Linked DNA regions of Homo sapiens: region 2 is linked to region 1. The links are contacts of gene promoters, found by promoter capture Hi-C in human tissues and cell types (Jung and others, 2019). All regions are on one chromosome and are shown on one strand. Each heading gives the region's core, a stretch centred on a gene start or on the middle of the fragment in contact. The rest is flanking DNA. Distances are from core to core; before and after follow the strand shown.

Region 1 (4,572 bases), core at 39-2,538:
CGCTCGCTTTCCCCGGCCCCCACCCCCCCTCCTTTCCCTGGGGCTTAGAGTCTATGGGCCGGGCCCTTAGAGCCCCCGCCTCCCCCAACAGCCCTCCCAGCCGTGGGCGGGAGTGCAATGCGAACCAGATGGGGCTAGGAGAAACCAAAGGGGGAGACGGTGGTGGGTTGCAGAGGCGGGGGCTAAGCTCCTTCAAGGCGCTCCTCCTTCCAGCTCCGCCGCAGGAAGTCACGTCGTAGGCTCCCGACCTCTTACTCATCTTCCACTAGACTCTCGGGCGAGGTCCCTAATAGACGGCCCCAGGAAGGGTATCGTCTTTGTCACACAAAATTCCCAGGCAGGGCCTCATCCTCAGCAAACAGAGGACAAGTGGAGGAATCCCTGCCTGACCTACGCGCTGACAAAAGCCGACGCGTCTAATCAACACGCGCACCTAAGTGGTGGCGTGCAGCATAACCCTCCCATTCCTGTTTCCCAAACTTTCCAGGCTAGCATGGAGGCCTGGGTTTCTGAGAGCGACCCCCTCAGATTATTCCATTGGGGCTGAGGAGGGGCGCGGGGATATCTAGGAGATCCCTGCAGAGCCCCACGCTCTCAGGCCCGCCTTAAGTGCACACTATACGGGAGTCAGATGCACGCACAGGAGAAGCCGCACAGCCCAGCCTTCGCTAACTTTTCCCGGCTCACTGCTAACATTCACACGTCCAGCACCACAAGGCCTGAGTATGGGCAACGGGCGTCCCCGTAGTTGTTTAGGCGCGTGTGCACGTCCGTGCGCTTCTGTGTCTTTGTGTACTTGTGCGTGGTTGTGAAACTCCTCTCTCAGCTCGGAGGGGTGGGGGAGAGAAGGAATGTCGCCGGCGGGGCGCTCACGTGGGTACGTGGGCGCCAAGAGGGCCGGCTGTGCATCCGGCGTGGGCGGCACAGAACGACCTCGCCCCGCCCGCTGGGTCCCCAAGCCCGCCCTGCACAGCCGGGCCTCGGTCACCTCGGTCCCCAATTCGGCGCCCCGGCTCTGAATCCCCGCCCCCGCCTCCTGCTCCACACCCCCTCCCCCCCCGTCTCCGCCTCTCCCAGTCTCTAAGCCGCGGCGTCTCCGCGGCCGAGAGGCCCCAGCGCCCGCCTCCCCGGCCCCCGCCCCCACCCCCGCCCCCGGCTCTGCCCACGCCCTCCGCCCGCCAGCCCGGCAGCCAGCGCAGCTCCGGGCCTCGCTCCCTGTGCGTCCTGCGGGGGCGGAGGCGCGGAGAGGCGGCAAGCGCAGCCGGGGAGGGTGGGGGGGCAGAGGCACAGACAGAGGCGCGGAGGCTCGGAGAGAGAAGACGTGGAGGGAGGGACAGAGCCTGGACAGCGGTGGACACGGCATCGTGCGCGGGGAAGAGGGCAGCACGCAGCAGGCGCCGAGCGCCGGGCACCGAGAAGGGCAGCCCGGGTGATCTCCGGCCGTCCATGCACAGAGCGCCTTCCCCCACAGCCGAGCAGCCGCCGGGCGGAGGGGACAGCGCCCGCCGGACCCTGCAGCCCAGACTCAAGTTAGTGGGCAAAGGGAGGCAGCGGGGAGTGGAGATGGGTGGAGCTGGACTTGGGAATGGGGTCCAGAGGGCGGAGGTCGAGGGGAGGACGTGGGGAAGCAGGACGGGGGTGGGGGGTGGAGACTGATGGAAAAGGGGGTGCGTCTTCGAATTAGGGGGCCCTGGGAGCAGGCAAGCATCTGATGAAGCTGGATATGAAAGAGTAGTACCCAAATCTCCATTCCTGGTTTACTCTGTGGGCTCCATCTGGCCTAAGAGCCCCCTGCAAAGAATGTGGGAGCCTCCAAGCACCAGGGGATGCCCTGGAGCTCGAGCTGGCATCAGTGCGGAAGGTGGGGGGACGCTCAGTTGCCTCAGTCCCTCGTTGGCACGGAGCGCGCGGGCCCCCGGTGCCTTTGAGTTAAAGGAGCATCAGCGGGGGAAAGGGGGGGTGACGAGGGAGGCAGGGAGGCCTTAGGCGTTCCTTCCCATATCTGTCCCTTTATTCACAGAGCGGGGAGGGGAGTTTCAGTGTGCAGCCCCTTCATCAAGAGGCCTTGAGCCGCTCCCCCACTCCACTTGAAGATGCGGGTGGAAAATATGGGAGAGGAGAGTAGGCGGGAGCCCCTGGGCGGTTTTCGCCTACAGACGCTACCACTGTGGGAGTGTGTGTGGGCGGAACGGCCCCGGAGCAGAACAATTGCGCCCCTCCCCCTGCCACGGCCCCTGAGCTGAAGGAAAAGGCTGACCGAGGAAGTGGGGAGTGTCACTGCTAGGAGAGGGGCCACTGAGGAGCACTGGGCAGCCTGGAAGGGTGGAGAGGTTCTGAGGGGAGAGAGGAAGCGTGCGTTAAGAATGCTTAACCAGGCCGGGCGGGCCCGGTGGCTCAGGCCTGTAATCCCAGCACTTTGGGAGGCTGAGGCGGGTGGATCACGAGGTCAGGAATTCGAGCCCAGCCTGACCAACATGGTGAAACCCCGTTTCTACTAAAAATACAAAAATTAGCCGGGCATGGTGGCGGGCGCCTGTAATCTCAGCTACTCAGGAGGCTGAGGCAGGAGAATCGCTTGAACCCGGGAGGCGGAGGTTGCAGTGACAGCGCCACTGCACTCCAGCCTGGGTGACAGAGCGAGACTCCGTCTCAAATAAATAAATAAATAAATAAATAAATAAATGCTTAACCCCTGGGAAAAGCTGAGCGGAGAAGAGTAAGGCACCACCTGGCTCACTGAGTGGGAAAGCCAGGGAAGGTGCCACACCCTCCCTTTTAGCCACCTGGGGCTGTGGCCCCTTCACAGGGAATGAAGCTGGCCAGCAGCGTCCACTGTGGGGGAGACTGGGCTCCTACATTCACTTTAGTATGGGTGACTTCACTTCAGTGTTGAGACTGCTGAGTGTTTAGAGGGGAAGGTGAGGATTGTGTTTTGGGGGAGAGGGAGGTCCAGCCATCCCAGGTCGGTGCTGGTCAGCCTCAGCGCTCAAGTTCTTCTTGCCCCAGACCAAAAAGATAAAAGCTGAAGATAAGGTTGTAAGACGCTTCGACTCCTACAGACACAGGCCACTGACTTTTGGGGCTTCGGGCCAGTCTAGGACGGCACTGGCTTGTCCATGCCTCTGAGCAGTGCCTGATTCTGAGAGTCTGTACTCAGACCTGGGCACTGGGCAGGATAGCATCCAAATGAGGGAGGGGAAGAAAAGCAGGCAGGAAAGAGGGAACAATTGTTAGTGTGGGTTGGTACCCAGTAGGGGGACTTGCACCGACTGCCTCTCTCTTGTGCCCCTCCTTCTCAGGCCCAGTGCCCGAGCCATGGCACTGCCTCGGACGCTGGGGGAGCTGCAGCTGTACCGGGTCCTGCAGCGCGCCAACCTCCTTTCCTACTATGAGACCTTCATCCAGCAGGGAGGGGACGACGTGCAGCAGCTGTGTGAGGCGGGTGAGGAGGAGTTTCTGGAGATCATGGCACTTGTGGGCATGGCCACCAAGCCCCTCCATGTCCGGCGCCTGCAGAAGGCACTGAGAGAGTGGGCCACCAATCCAGGGCTCTTCAGTCAACCAGTGCCTGCTGTTCCCGTCTCCAGCATCCCGCTCTTCAAGATCTCTGAGACTGCGGGTACCCGGAAAGGGAGCATGAGCAATGGGCATGGCAGCCCAGGGGAAAAGGCAGGCAGTGCCCGCAGTTTTAGCCCCAAGAGCCCCCTTGAACTTGGAGAGAAGCTATCACCACTGCCTGGGGGACCTGGGGCAGGGGACCCCCGGATCTGGCCAGGCCGGAGCACTCCAGAGTCGGACGTTGGGGCAGGAGGAGAAGAGGAGGCTGGCTCGCCCCCCTTCTCCCCCCCTGCAGGGGGAGGAGTCCCTGAGGGGACTGGGGCTGGGGGGCTGGCAGCAGGTGGGACTGGGGGTGGTCCAGACCGACTGGAGCCAGAGATGGTACGCATGGTGGTGGAAAGTGTGGAGAGGATCTTCCGGAGCTTCCCAAGGGGGGATGCTGGGGAGGTCACATCCCTGCTAAAGCTGAATAAGAAGCTGGCACGGAGCGTTGGGCACATCTTTGAGATGGATGATAATGACAGCCAGAAGGAAGAGGAGATCCGCAAATACAGCATCATCTATGGCCGTTTCGACTCTAAGCGGCGGGAGGGCAAGCAGCTCAGCCTGCACGAGGTGAGAACCCCCAGGCCTCCTAGGATTGCCCTTGACTTCCAGGTCTCCAGCCGCTTACCTCTGCGAGTTTCTACAGTCTCCGACTATCTTTCATTATCTCTTGACCAGGACCCCAGGCCCTGATCCCCTCCCCAACAGGCCCCTACCCCAGCGGCCGCAGTGCTTCCATCCTCAGCTGAGGGGGAAGCAGAGATACAGGCAGCACCGAGCTGTTCAGCTCCTTGTCACTCAGGACCCCACAGGAGAGGAGGAGGCCCCGGGCATTCCTAGGAAGCTGTGGGTGCTGACCTCTGTCTTCCCACCTCAGAAAGCTCCCATGTAGTGTCAAAACCAAAGCAAGCGTCTGATGGATGGGCCTCATTTGTCCAATGGTGAAGGGGTGTGAGGAGGTCTGGTGAG
Region 2 (4,056 bases), core at 1,365-3,864, 780 kb before region 1:
CCCAAAGTGTTGGGATTATAGGTGTGAGCCACTGCATCTGGACTAAACCTTTTTTTGAGTCGCACTTTATTGCCCAGGCTGAAGTGCAGTGGCGCAATCTTCACTGTAACCTCTGCCTCCCTAGTAGCTGGGATTATAGGCGCATGCCACTACACCTGGCTAATTTTTGTATTTTTGGTAGAGATGGGTTTTTGGCATGTTGCCCAGGCTTGGTCTCGAACTCCTGGCCTCAATTGATCTGTCCACCTCGGCATCCCCAAGTGCTGGGATTACAGGCATGATCCACTGGGCCCAGCCCTAAAACGTATTTCTAAAGGACTAAATTTTCACATAATAAACTTTCCTGTTATATCTGTACCTCATTTAACACTGTCTTCGGAAATGTTTGTTAAGTTCTAACATTTTACTGATAAACTAAGTTAGAAGGCATCTGAAGCTTGATCAGATTTACAAGGTTAAGAGCATATGCTCTACCAAATACTGGGCTATAATTTATTATAATGAACCTCCAGAGGGTTCAGATAAATTCATGCATTCCTTGTGATATGAATTAAAACATGTGCAAAGCCAGGCATGGTGGTGCTTGCCTGTAATCCTAGAAACTCAGGAGGCCAAGGCAGGAGGATTGCTTGAAGCCAGGAGTTAGAGGCTGCAATGAGTTATGATCATGCCATTTCACTCCAGCCTGGGCAACAGAGCAAGACCCCTGTCTCGCTAAGATAGTAATAATAATAATGATAATAATAAAAAAAATAAGAGGTTTACAAAGTGTATCTTCCTGCTGGGCACGGTGGCTCACGCCTGTAATCCCAACACTTTGGGAGGCTGAGGCAGGCGGGTTACTTGAAGCCAGGAGTTTGAGACCAGCCTGGCCAACATGGTGAAACACTGTCTCTACAAAAAACTCAAAAATTAGCTGGGCATGATGGCACATGCTTGTAATCCCAGCTACTTGGGAGGCTGAGTCAGGAAAATCACTTGAACCAGGAGGTGGAGGTTGCAGTAAGCCGAGATTGCACCACTGCACTTCAGCCTGGGCGACAGAGCGAGACTCTCCCTCAGGAAAAAAAAAACAAAAAACAAAAAAACCCCACAAAGTGTATCCTTAATCAAGCCTAGAAGGTAACATCCACCCTTTCCTATATAGGACATATCCTTTGTGTACCAATGACAAAGTCTCTCCAGCTGGAGAGTTCTTAACAGCTGTACTTTGACAAACCAGAAAGGTGCATCACAAGTAACTTGTTACTGATTAACATTAAATTTATTTATTTAAAACTATGAATAATTTGTTTTCTAAATTAAAACAGTTTTAAGTTTCCAGAAGAGAACTCTCTTTATTGTATTTGAGACAGGGTCTCACTCTGTTGCCTAGGCTAGAGTGCAGTAGTGCAATCACAGCTCAGTGCAGCCTCAGCCTCCTGGGTTCGAGAGATCTTGCCACCTTGGCCTCCAGAGTCGCTGGAACCACAGGTGCACACCATTATGCCGGCTAATTTTTGTATTTTTTGTAGCAATGGGGTCTCACTATATTGCCTAGGCTGGTCTCAAACTCCTGGACTCGAGTGATCATGATCCTTCCACCTTGGCCTCCCAAAGTGTTGGGATTATGGGCACGAGCCACCGCATTTGGCTTGAAGAGTACTCTCATTTATACTTCTGATAAGCTTTCTGATGGAAAAGAAAGGCATTTTTAGGCACGAAGCACGAAATGGACAGCACCTTGGGTATACTTTCAGGGACATGAAAAAATGTAATTATTACTTATATGCATCATAGAAGAAAAAATAAGCTTTATAATAGTTGGTTTGGAAAACTAGAGCGAACACAGCATTTCTTATGGATGATGGGAGAAGATGGAATTAACACCAGGCTGATATTAGTTGACAACAAATATCAGAGTGCTTGCTCTGTGCTCTAGTTAATTTGTCAGATTTCACAGGGATTTTTGGTACAAGAAAGCTTTGTGGAATATATGCATTCTATGCGCCAGGCTTAGTGCAAGGTATTATTAGAGAAAAAAGACTTAAAATAGAAGGTACTCTATAGCTATATTAGATCAGGTCAGCACTTGGGAAAGTTAGCTTATAGACCCAGTTTTGCCATTAAATACAGAACTTCATAAAGTTCTATGGCTTCTCTGGGCCTCAGCTTCTTCATCAATAAAATGGGCAGAGGTGAACCAGACGACCTCTAAGGTTCCTTTAGATTCTAAAATGATGTAATTTTTAAAACCTTTGAAATGTTTATTCAGGTCTTCTCTCCTTGAGGTGTTCTTGGGACCGGAGATATTCCATTTGAAACCCTGAGACAACCATACCTCAAGCTCAGAGTGCTTAAGAATTTTCTGCCAGGTGCGGTGGCTCACACCAGTAATCCCAGCATTTGGGGAGGCCAAGGCGGGCGGATCATGAGGTCAGGAGATCGAGACCATCCTGGCTAACACGGTGAAACCCTGCCTCTACTAAAAATACAAAAAAATTAGCCAGTGCAGGCCGGGCGCGGTGGCTCACGCCTGTAATCCCAGCAGTTTGGGAGGCCAAGGCGGGCGGATCACGAAGTCAGGAGATCGAGACCATCCTGGCTAACATGGTGAAACCCCGTCTCTACTAAAAATACAAAAAATTAGCCGGGCGTGGTGGCGGGTGCCTATAGTCCCAGCTACTTGGGAGGCTGAGGCAGGAGAATGGTGTGAACCCGGGAGGCGAAGCTTGCAGTAAGCCGAGATCGCGCCACTGTACTCCAGCCTGGGCGATAGAGCGAGACTCTGTCTCACAAAAAAAAAAAAAAAAAAATTAGCCGGTGTGGTGGCGGGCGCCTGTAGTCCCAGCTACTCGGGAGGCTGAGTCAGGATAATGGCGTGAACCTGGGAGGCAGAGCTTGTAGTGAGCCGAGATCGCGCCACTGTACTCCAGCCTAGGCGACAGAGCGGGACTCCATCTCAGAAAAAAAAAGAAAAAAAGAATTTCCCAAAAGAAGGTATCCTTTAGGTTTTCATCCCTATGCCCCAGTCTGGAATCTCTACACACAGAATTGTGGACAGACTTATAGTCCAGATTGACAATGGCTAGTGATAGATACACTTTATTGTTGCCACTGGCATCAAATTTAAAAGCTTAGGCTGGCAAGCAAGGCCTCTCATTAAACAACCTTCCTTACCTCGTCTGTCCCTATCCGATAAAGCCCTTACTTTTCAGCTGAGTTGGTCACATCCATTTTCCCCTTCCTGTCTCTGTTCTTGCTGGTCCCTCCATCTGGATGGGCAGGGAAGGAAGAATAATGCATATCCGTTATTTCCTTCAAGACCAAGCCCTGTCTTACTTTATGTTTCAACAGCCATGAACACAAGGGATTTCTAGAATTCTACACTACCATACACTATGTTCCCCTGCTTCCTCATGGAGGTTCCTCTATTCTCCACAATTAGACTCTAAAGACGTGGTATTGAGTGGGCACTGACTGAAAGCTTATCTAGTTTATGAGTGGAGTGGAATCTCAGAAGGTAGAAGAATTAAAGGTTCAGGCCTCTCCTACCTTTATCCTGTATCAATCCCAAAACTCTTCTTTCTCCTCCATTATCTTTCCTGTCTATATAACTCCTTATCTTCAAGCTTAATGTAAGGGCAATTCCAGGCATGAAAAGACAACACAGTTTGTACTTTTGGTTTCATATTTTTTCAGTTAATTTCAGTAAAAACATAATATATAAAAGGCATTGCCACCATTTTCCCCTCCTGGGGGTGATCCATCAAGCCAGTGTGGGCTGCTCCAGTGGTTCATAGCTCATCATGCGATATGTGCAGGGCATGGTCACAAAGATCTGCAAATGGCAAACAATTTAAAGGAATATGCCATTCTCATACTGATATCTGCCAGTATCAAGAAAATTTCCCAGACCAAGCTGACACAAACACACACCAACCACCATTCTGCAGAATATATGCTTATAAATGATAAAACATCCCCACTGTCCTCTCACCTGTATCTCAGGGTCAAGGGGACACAAATTCTGAAAGCTGACAGAAAATGTGGAGGAACACCCCAAGTCCCTAAGCC

The links. Contacts are between HindIII fragments. The study calls those that stand out against the background at their distance.
Region 2: a contact is called between a fragment that was not itself captured here and the fragment with the promoter of NAB2 in region 1, in 1 of the 25 tissues and cell types used here (dorsolateral prefrontal cortex).

Annotation. Positions count from the first base shown.
Region 1 is chr12:57,087,826-57,092,397 of GRCh38, forward strand. NAB2 (NGFI-A binding protein 2) reads left to right here and starts at 1,289. Exons shown (of 7, transcript NM_005967.4): 1 at 1,289-1,529; 2 at 3,300-4,173. The coding sequence starts at 1,447. It also overlaps a transcript of NEMP1 not described here. RefSeq lists an enhancer at 561-610 and silencers at 881-1,500, 3,893-4,173. The HindIII fragment of the contact is 6,684 bases long and covers 1-2,658 here.
Region 2 is chr12:56,306,776-56,310,831 of GRCh38, forward strand. It overlaps CNPY2 (canopy FGF signaling regulator 2), which reads right to left. Exons shown (of 6, transcript NM_014255.7): 6 at 3,069-3,820. The coding sequence ends at 3,777. Among named protein-coding and RNA genes, the nearest start is that of CNPY2-AS1, 2.6 kb to the right of the region's middle. The HindIII fragment of the contact is 3,127 bases long and covers 1,052-4,056 here.